2 separate regions of the Homo sapiens genome follow, and region 2 is linked to region 1. The links are contacts of gene promoters, found by promoter capture Hi-C in human tissues and cell types (Jung and others, 2019). All regions are on one chromosome and are shown on one strand. The core of a region is centred on a gene start or on the middle of the fragment in contact, and the rest is flanking DNA. Distances in the headings are between cores, read along the strand shown.

What was found. The method cuts DNA at HindIII sites, captures the fragments that hold promoters and counts their contacts. A contact is called where the count stands out against the background at its distance.
Region 2: a contact is called between the fragment with the promoter of TSKS here and the fragment with the promoter of IZUMO1 in region 1, in 1 of the 25 tissues and cell types used here (lymphoblastoid cells).

Annotation. Positions count from the first base shown.
Region 1 is chr19:48,745,456-48,750,610 of GRCh38, forward strand. It overlaps IZUMO1 (izumo sperm-oocyte fusion 1), which reads right to left and starts at 1,454. Exons shown (of 10, transcript NM_182575.3): 1 at 980-1,454; 2 at 170-477. The coding sequence starts at 404. It overlaps FUT1 (fucosyltransferase 1 (H blood group)), which reads right to left. Exons shown (of 2, transcript NM_001384359.1): 2 at 2,556-5,155. The coding sequence ends at 4,729. RefSeq lists a cis regulatory region at 1-173 and enhancers at 949-1,734, 1,735-2,520. The HindIII fragment of the contact is 12,211 bases long and covers 1-5,155 here.
Region 2 is chr19:49,762,056-49,767,190 of GRCh38, forward strand. It overlaps TSKS (testis specific serine kinase substrate), which reads right to left and starts at 1,251. Exons shown (of 11, transcript NM_021733.2): 1 at 1,023-1,251; 2 at 1-177. The coding sequence starts at 1,192. It overlaps AP2A1 (adaptor related protein complex 2 subunit alpha 1), which reads left to right and starts at 4,946. Exons shown (of 23, transcript NM_130787.3): 1 at 4,946-5,135. The coding sequence starts at 5,079. It also overlaps the pseudogene RNU6-841P. RefSeq lists enhancers at 1-4, 3,611-4,588, 4,642-5,135 and a silencer at 4,501-5,080. The HindIII fragment of the contact is 39,317 bases long and covers 1-5,135 here.

The DNA of each region.
Region 1 (5,155 bases), core at 204-2,703:
CCGAGGATAGGGAAAACGGTATTTACTAGCCTCGGGGAACCTCGGAATCTGCATCTCAGCCTTCTCCATTCCCGAATCCCGGAGACCCTGCTGTCAGCCTCTTCCTTCCCCTGGTCTTATCTCCCTCCTTTCCCAGGACCCAGGGGTCCGTGGTCCCCCCTGCCCTCACCAACGACCCCCATATAGGCATCCTCATTAAGCGACAGTTCCTGGAAATCCTTCACGGCATTCTCTACCCTTTCCATCATGGCTTTGTGATGCTTCGCATCCAGGTGGCCAGGCAGGTAATCTTTCTCCAGGGACTTTAGCGCCAGCACGACAGACGGGTCACATATAACACACCCCTCGGCAGGAAGCAAGCAACCGGCCAGCGCCGCACACAGGAGGGTAAAATGCGGCCCCATTGCAGCCGGCGCGCACAGTTCCCGAAGACCGTTAGGAAGGGTGCTCTCACCCCAAACCGAGAGCAGGAGAACGCTAAACGGAGAAAAGCCAAAATCCATCTTAAGAAATCCCACTGGGCCGCCTATCCATGGGGTCCGCAAACCTCGAAAAGAGGATCTTCAGGAAATCTCCAAATAAAGAGGACCTATGTCCTTCATCAAATGCCTCCGAAGTGTGAAACTGAGCCCCAATCCAGGGGACCCAAAATTTAGGGTTCTCACTGAATCCCCCAACTGAGAGATCAGAAAAACTATTAAACAGGAATCACTCATAAGTCCCCAAACTCAGAACCTGGAATCTCCCAACCCCATGCGCCCCTTCCCAAAATCCCAAACTGTGGAATTTTCCAAGTCCCCAGATTGACGTGAGCCTGAACTCCAACCCTTAAGAGCAACACCGAGGCACTCCCCCGCCAGCCCCCCAAAACCTGTTGAACCTCAAGCTGAAGATTCAATGCCCAAACCAATAAACATCTAACACAGACCCAACCACGATATTATCAAACTCGGAACTCCTTCAAAACCAAAACACATACCAGATTCCTAGAACTGAGGACCCCACTAACACTTAAGCGAGACTCCATGCGGTCCTCTAGACCTAGGGGGCCCTTGTTCACCCTTCCCCAAAACTAACGGGCTCCCAATTTGCAGGGCGCACCCTTCCGCTTAGAAAAAGGAGCCCCGATGCATCCTGAACAGTGATGCACCCTAAACAGCCGCTCCCCGACCTTGGTTCCCGATTTGTGGCCTCTAACACTAGGGTTCATTGAGGAGCCCGGTCCAGGTTCTGAGGGCTTTTAAAGAGGAAGCCGGGGTCATGACCACCTACGCTAATTTTCCCAGGGGTAAAATCAAGGATTGTGTTGGGGACGAGGGTAAGGTTGGTTGCGTGAAATCGAGAGCTTTTCGACGGGGTCTGAGTCACGGACGATCCCCTCTCCACAAGGAACTCCTGAAACCACCCCCTCCGAGCTTCTCACGTAGGGGCCCGAATTCCTTTATAGATATTCCTTGGGGTTTTCCTCGGCCCCACCCAGAAACTCAACTCTGTCTGATTGGACTGCAACAAAGGGAGGTCCCGCCCATCGCTCCATGACGTCACAGAGGCTGCAGCCTTTTTGGACTAGAATTTTCCCAGCATCTAGGGAAGAGGAAGCCTCCTGACTACTCTGGCTTCCAGAGTCAAGGACCGGACTCAGGCCTTCAGTTTCCTCCCCTCCCCTTGCCCCAGGACCCAGGCTTTGGGCTAGATCCGGCCCCCCAGGCCGCTGCCGCCCCCACCGCGGTCCTTGGAAACGGCTGTCGAGCCACGAAGTGGACATTTTAGCCCTAAGACTACAACTCCCAAAATGCCCTGGGGCCTCTTTCTCTGTAGCTGACTGACGCTGCCAACCTCATAGCTTTCCGGGAAATGTAGTTCAGTGATAATCCGCTCCCTCCTCCGCCTCTTCTGCCCACGCGGAGGTCCCAGTGGGAGGAGAGGACTGGGGGCCAATACTGACAGTCCAGGAGTGAGCAACTGGGGGCTCAGACGTTAGGGTCCTGGAAGGTCTCTCTCTCCTGTGTGATAGAAACAGGGAACCAGAAAAACAGGGACCACAACTCACACAAGTCCAGCAACAAGGGGCTGTCAGATCTAAGTAGGGACAGTACTCCCAATCACGAGTAATAAAAATCCTCAGGGCCCGGCGCGGTGGCTCACGCTTGTAATTCCAGCGCTTTGGGAGGCCGAGGCGGGCAGATTGTCTGAGGTCAGGAGTTCGAGGCCAGCCTGGCTAACATGGTGAAACCCCGTCTCTACTAAAAATACAAAAATTAGCTGGGCATGGTGGCGAACGTCTGTAGTCCCAGCTACTTGGGAGGCTGAGGCACCAGAATCCGAGAGGTGGGAGTTTGCAGTGGGCCGAGATCACACTACTGCACTCCAGCCTGGGCCACAGAGCAAGACTCGATCTCTGAAAAAAAATAAATTAATTAAAAAAAAATAAAAGTCTTCAGAAGTACCCCACCTTTTCCTCCACTCTCTTACACACACACACACACACACACACACACAAACCCACACACACATACACAGTGGCTCTGGCTCCAAAAAAGCTACAGAGACACGGGTTAGTGCTGTAGACTTTTAATTCATACCTCCTGCTCTCTCACCCGTGGCAGCTGAGTTGGGAACAGTACTGTAACAATTGTAACTGTAACTCCCTGATAAGCCTACAGGCATGGGGTCTGGATGAGTAGACAGGGGATGTGATCAGAGCTGACTATGTTTAAGGTTTCTTCTTTCACCCTCCAAAAAACAGCAAGGGGCTCCTGAGATCTCGACAACCCCGTCCACCTTGGCCAGACCTCGTGCTCCTGCCTGGATCTGAGGCTGGGTCCAGGGTCTGCCTACCTTTAGATCGTTTTATCTCAGACCTGCCCAAAGCCAGATGTAGTGGTTCTGGGAGTTCAGGGACAGACAGTGGTTAGCAATGAGCACGGTACCTGCCAGTTTGTCACAAGCACAGAGGGTGTGTTTATACCTGCACACTTCCAGAAAACAGATCCCAGACCCTCAGCAGCCCACCTGCAGACAAAGACCAACTTCCTTCATTGTGAGAGGCAACCTGAACTCACACCCAATATATGGAGCTCTTGGCAGTTTATGAGCTTTAAAAAAAAGTGTCCCTGGATCCCTGGAAAGTTCTGCTCCAGAAGCTGTACCATTTTGGCAGTGATCCCTCACCCCACGTTCACATTTTAGCCTGTCTGCTCAAAACAAACAAAAAAAAGTCTTTGAGGGGCTGTGGGGCTTGTTGGACAGAGTCCCGCTCTGCTCACCAACTACCCCAGCTTTTCCAGAGACTGTGAACAGAGCAAGACGCTGGCCAACTAGAGATGGTTTGTTTTCCATCTCAATTTTTCCAGCAATGGTGGAACATTCATTAGATGCTACAATTAGGTTGCACATTCATTAGATTCTTCACTTGGCCCGGTGTGCTGGCTCACATCTATAAACCCAGCATTCTGGGAGGCCAAGGTGGGAGGACTGCTTGAGCCCAGGAGTTGAAGAACAGCCTGGGCAATATCACAAGACCTCGTCTCTACAAAAATTAAAAAAAATTATCCGGGCCAGGCATGGTGGCTCACGCCGGTAATCCCAGCACTGTGGGAGGCCGAGGTGGGCAGATCACGAGGTCAGGAGATCGAGACCATCCTGGTTAACACGATGAAACCCCGTCTCTACTAAAAATACAAAAAAAATTAGCCGGGCGTGGTGGCGGGCGCCTGTAGTCCCAGCTACTCAGGAGGCTGAGGCAGAATGGCATGAACCCGGGAGGCAGAGCTTGCAGTGAGCTGAGATCGCGCCACTGCACTCTGGCCTGGGCTACAGAGCAAGACTCCGTCTCAATAAATAAATAAATAAATAAATAATTAAAAAAAAAATATCCGGGCTGGGCACAGTGGCTCATGCCAGTAATCCCAGCACTTTGGGAGGCCAAGACAGGTGGATGACAAGGTCAGGAGATCGAGACCATCCTGGCCAACATGGTGAAACCCTGTCTCTACTAAAAATACAAAAATTAGCCAGGCATAATGGCCTGTGCCTGTAGTCCCATCTACTCAGGAGGCTGAGACAGGAGAATCGCTTGAACACAGGAGGCGGAAGTTGCAGTGAGCCAAGATCACGCCACTGCACTCCAGCCTGGGCAACAGAGCGAGACCCTGTCTCCAAAAAAAAAAAAAAAAAACTAAAAAGATTCTTCACCTTAGTTATCTGGATTTCCAGAACCCCATCCTGTCCATAAGGGCCCTGCAGGGTTCTTCACAGGCATCAAACCTGGTCCTCTCTAGAACAAGTCTCCCTCTAGAATCACTCCAGAAACACAGAAGGGGACTTGGTGAATGCTTGCTCTGGAGCAATCATATGCTCCTTCAGTCTTTGGAGGACCCAGGGGAGAAGTAACCCCTCTTCTAGAGTAGACCAGAGGGAGAGTTCCCCATTCCTGGGGGCAGCCATCTGGAAGTACTGTAGATATGGGCTGGGAAGAGCAGGTGGGCACTGTGGCTTCTAGAACTGCCTGCCAGCCATCAGGAAAAGATGTTTTGCTAGTTCTAGAATATTCAGACAGTTCCAGAAACGTCCCCCTTCTCTCCAACTCTCCCAACTAGAATCACTCTGGATACGGGCACCCATTTGCTTCAGGAACACCACAAGCTTCTCCAGAAGATGCCAGGCCTCTGAAGCCACGTACTGCTGGCTCTAGAAAGATCAGGCTACTTCAGAAAGTCTCCCTGGCTCTCAAGGCTTAGCCAATGTCCAGAGTGGAGACAAGTCTGCATTAATGCCCACCCACTCGGGCAGGAAGGCCGCCTCCGGCTTAAAGATCTTCAGGAACTCAGAGTCTGGCAGGGTGAAGTTGGCCAGGTAGACAGTGTCTCCGCCAGCCAGGTAGGCAGCCCAGAAGCCGAAGGTGCCAATGGTCATAATGGTGTGGTTGCACTGTGTGAGCAGGGCAAAGTCTTTCCACGGTGTAGCCTCCTGTCCATCGCCAGCAAACGTCACATCGCCCTGGGAGGTGTCGATGTTTTCTTTACACCACTCCATGCCGTTGCTGGTGACCACGAAAACGGGGGCTTCGTGCCGTGCCCGGAACCAGTCCATGGCCTGCCGGAGGTAGGCGCTGTCGCCCACCACACCCTTCCAGCGCTGAGGCATAACCTGCAGA
Region 2 (5,135 bases), core at 1-2,500, 1.0 Mb after region 1:
GCAGGGGGCCCAGCCAGTGTGAGTTGGCCGCTGAGGTCTTCCACTGTGGAGTCTGTCCCCGTGGAGTCAGTGGGCTCCATGGCGGCCAGGTTGAGCAGTGACACGTTGGTGCAGGCCGAGGACCGTTTGAGGTTCAGGCACCAGTGCATGGGCTGATGGGACATCTGGGGCTCCACCCTGCAGAGAAGAAACAGGCAGAAAAGTGGAGAAGCAGCCCCAGGGTGTCTGGGCCCTCCTGCCTTCCTTTCTCCATACCTCACCCCCTGTGACTCCACCCTCACTGTATATAAGTTTCTCCCTTCTCTGTCCCCGCTGCCTACTTTATTCTCCTTCCCTGTGCTGCCTACTTTCTTTCTTTTTTCTTTCTTTCTTTTTTTTTTTTTTTTGAGACAGAGTCTCACTCTGTTGCCCAGGCTGGAGTGCAGTGGCGCGATCTCAGCTCACTGCAACCTCCGACTGCGGGTCCCAGTTCAAGCAATTCTCCTGCCTCAGCCTCCTGAGTAGCTGGGGTTATAGGCATGTGCCATCACGCCCAGCTAATTTTAGTATTTTTAGTAGAGATGGCTTTTCACCATGTTGGCCAAGCTGGTTTTGAACTCCTGACCTCATGATCCACCTGCCTCGGCCTCCCAAAGTGCTGGGATTACAGGCGTGAGCCACCGTGCCCGACCACCACTGTCTACTTTCTTCTTCTCCTTCCCCGCTGCCTACTTTCTCCTCCCTTCTCTGCCACCTACTTTCTTCTTCATTCACTAGCCTCCCTTCTCCTTCTTCCCTCCCCACTGGCTTTTTCCTCTCTCCATCCATCCCCATTACCTTCTTCCTCCCTCCATCCATCCCCATTACCTTCTTCCTCTCTACCTCCCTGTGACTTGATGTCTCTTCACTGCTGCCCTCTTTCCTGCCCCCGACCTGCTGGCTTTTCCCCCTCCCCTTCCTCTAGCACCCACAGTCGGACTCCTGCTCTGTTGGAGGTAGTGCTGGGCATTAGAACCATCCCTGACAGTGTGCAACAAACCCACCCGTGGAACGACACGGCCTTCTTTTTCTTCGGGATCCCCTTGGCCCGGCTGGTCACCCTCCGGGGAGCCTCTGGGACTAGCTGGGAGCAGCTCTCCACCCCCGTGGGGGTGTCCCCGGCCTCATGGATCTCTTTGGACTGCCAGATCGTCTTCACCACCACGCTCGCCATGGTGTGGGGGTCTGGCTCCCAGGGAGGGGCTCCTTCCTCTGAGACTTCCTACCTACTGTGACCACAGACCCTCAGGATCCACTGTCCCCTCAGCCTGCCTCACAAAGGACCCAACCACTGGGCCCCAGTGAGTGGGGGGCACAGGGTAGGGAGAGATGCTGGCCCAGGTCATTCCCCTAGGGTTCTCAGTGGACTCCTCCTGTTCAGGATTCTAGTTACATGCCCAATGTGCCCCCCGTCTTCAGAGCTCCAGTGGATGGATTCATGCTAGCCTGTAACTTAACAATGGGTCGGCCCACGGATTCTTGGGAGAGGTCCAACTTCCCTCTCCCTGAGACTAAGCGTGGGGTCACACAGCCCTGTGCACTTGTTCTTGATTCTTCATGTAGCTTCCTGGATTTGACAATTGGCTGGGGTTTGAGAGACTGTGGTCGAAGAGGGCTGAGATCCAGACCCTGACCTGGAGGGTCTCATATTCTATGGGGCGTCGGGGTCGGGGGAAAGGCAATATACAGGTAGATCAACAAAAGAAAGCTAGGTGCGGTGGGCCTCGGGGTCAGGGTAGAAGGTGAGGGAGGAGAGGAAGGTAGAGAGTTGGGGCAGGACAGAGGGTGGTATCCCCCTCCCCCGTTTATTTATTTATTATTTTCTTTAATACTTTTTATTTTTTTTGAGACAGAGTCTCTCTCTGTCATGGAGGCTGGAGTTCAGTGGCGCGATCTCAGCTCATTGCAACCTCCACCTCCCGGGGTTCAACCGATTCTCCTGCCTCAGCCTCCCCAGTAGCTGGGACTACAGGCGCTGGCCACAATGTCCGGCTAATTTTTGTATTTTTAGTAGAGACGGGTTTCACCATGTTGGCCAAGTTGGTCTCAAACTCCCGACCTCAAATGGTCCACCCGCCTTAGCCTCCCAAAGTGTGGGATTACAGACATGAGCCACCATGCTCCGCTATAATTTTTTTTTTTTTTTTTTAGATGGAGTCTCGCTCTGACACCCAGGCTGGAGTGCAGTGGCGTGATCTTGGCTCATTGCAACCTCTACCTCCCAGTTTCAAGCGATTCTCCTGCCTCAGCCTCCTGAGTAGCTGGGACTACAGGTACCTGCCACCACACCCATCTAATTTTTTTTTTGTATTTTTAGTAGAGACAGGGTTTCACTGTGTTGGCTAGGCTAGTCTCCAACTCCTGACCTCGTGATCTGCCCACTTCAGCCTCCCAAAGCATTGGAATTACAGGTGTGAGCCACTGCGCCCCGCCCGCCCAAAGTATTTAAAAAATATATGGAACATGTCACAAATTTGCATGTGGTCTTTGCGCAGGGCCCATGCTAATCTTCTCTGTATCGTTCCAATGTTAATACATGTGCTGTCGAAGCGAGCACTGCCCTGCTATTTAGGGACAGACTTTTCCTGTTCTCTTCACACTTCTCAAAAAGACTAGTTCAAACATCACTGCTAATAGACATTTTAAATGCTGTTATCCCCAGGGAGAAAGTACTTCTTCCTGGTCATGAATGGACTCCAGTTCTTGGAACACTTAATCTTTCTATAATAAAGAACTCCTGGCTGGGCGCGGTGTCTCACACCTGTAATCCCAGCACTTTGGGAGGCCGAGGCGGGCGGATCACCTGAGGTTAGGAGTTCAAGACCAGCCTGGCCAACATAGTGAAACACTGTCTCTACAAAAATACAAAAATTAGGCGAGCATGATGACGGGTGCCTGTAATCCCAGCTACTTAGGAGGCTGAGGCAGGAAAATCGCTTTAACTCGGGAGGAAGAGGTTACAGTGAGCCGAGATTGAGTCACTGAACTCCAGCCTGGGGGACAGAGAGAGACTCTGTCTCAAAAAAAAGAAAAAAAAAAAAGGCCGGGCGCAGTGGCTCACGCCTGTAATTCCAGCACTTTGGGAGGCCGAGGTGGGCGGATCACAAGGTCAGGAGATCGAGACCATCCTGGCTAACACGGTGAAACCCCGTCTCTACTAAAAACACAAAAAATTAGCCAGGCATGGTGGCGTGCGCCTGTAGTCCCAGCTACTTGGGAGGCTGAGGCAGGAGAATGGCGTGAACCCGGGAGGCGGAGGTTGCAGTGAGCTGAGATCGCGCCACTGCACCCCAGCCTGGGCGACAGAGCGAGACTCCATCTCAAAAAAAAAAAAAAAGAACTTCAAGTCCTGGGATTAATAATTTTTCTTGTGTTTAATGGGGCTGCTTTATGTTCTTCAGGGGCAAACAGCACCCCCCTCCCATATTAGAAATGGACTCTCCCTGTGACTAAAACAGCTGAGCAATTTCTGTCCTCCTGGAATCCAAAATGGACTTTCCCAGGCCCCATTCCTGGAAACCCAAATGGACGCATCCATTGAGCCTGGAAGGTGGGCTCTTCTCAACCTCCTTTCCATCTCCCAGGATTCAGAATGGCCATTCCAAAGGTCCAGAACACACCCCCAAGGCTCATTCCAGGAATTCTTGGCTTCTGAGATTAGAAAAGGCTGATGGGGTGGAGTTTTGTTCCTACAGGTGACAGAAATGGACTCTTCCAGTTCCCTTTGTCCCAAATTTCTCAATCTCCTGGGGCGTTGGGAGTTCTGGCCGTTTTGCCTTCCCCAAAGCCAGTTTACCAAAGAGTCTCTGGGGAGCTGGGGGTTGGGGATGGAGGCTGGGGCTGGGCCAAAGCAGATTCACCTATTTCTTCTTTTAACAAATGTTGTTGAAACTGTTCAAGGCCAGGTCCCATTCTTGCCCAGAAGGAGTTCCCAGTCTGGAGGAGACAATCAATTTTGGTTTGATATCTGCTACAATGGAGGCTGCCCGAGAGACACTGCGGTTGGACAAAAAAAAAAAGGCAACATATATTGAAAAGTAAGCCAAGATACGGTTTACGTTTATTTCTGCTTTTTCACTTCCAAGCTGTGTGGCCCTGGGCAAGTCATTCGCCCTCTCGACCTAAGTTTTAACTTCTGCTTAATGGGACTAGCCTTGAATTACTGTTTTTCACTCTGAGATTCTAGGTCTCCTGACAACTCAAGTCCCGACACGTTGGCTGCAGAGAAGGGGGGAGGGGAGGAAGGCTTCCTAGAAGAGGATTTCAGCAGTCGGGGGTGACAGTGGAGGGAGAAAGGGAACACGGAGACGCTTGCGCAGTAAACACCGCACGCTCTCTTGCCTCGCCCAACCCCTTCTCTGCAGCAGGGAATTGCAGGCGTCGCTCCACCTATCCCAGCCGAGCGGAGTGACACCCTCCCCTCTTTCCTTCTCTACTGATCTTCGCCTTCCGCCCGCCCCACAGCCGCCCAATGGAGGGCTGAAGTAGGACAGATCTCGCCAATCCGCGACGCCTGCGGGGCAGGTCTACCCGTTCATTGGTCCCAGTCAACCTAAGTCCCGCCTCCTAGGACCGTTCCCCGCCTTCCTTCACGTCCCTCCCTTCCTCCTTGGAGAGCCGCTAGATCCAATCAGTGTTTGACCTGGCCGCGCGGAGGGGGCGGGCCCATGATACGCAATCGAACCCCGCCCGTCTCTCGGGCAACGCCTCCTCCCCCCCCTCCCCAGCTCCCAAACGGAAATAGCGGAACACTGGGCCAATCGTAGCGTCGTGCCTTTGCTTGGCGGCCAATGAGAGAGGAAGTGGGGGAGAAACCCGCCTGTGAGCGGCAGGAGCTCAAGCCAGTGGGCGGCTCAGAGCTCCGGACCGCGGGCGGAGGGGAGGGGCAGGGGGCGGTGCCACGGCCTGCCAGCCCGCCCGCCCGCCCGCCAGCCAGCCCTCCCCGCGGCCGGCTCGGCTCCTTGGCGCTGCCTGGGGTCCTTTCCGCCCGGTCCCCGCTTGCCAGCCCCCGCTGCTCTGTGCCCTGTCCGGCCAGGCCTGGAGCCGACACCACCGCCATCATGCCGGCCGTGTCCAAGGGCGATGGGATGCGGGGGCTCGCGGTGTTCATCTCCGAC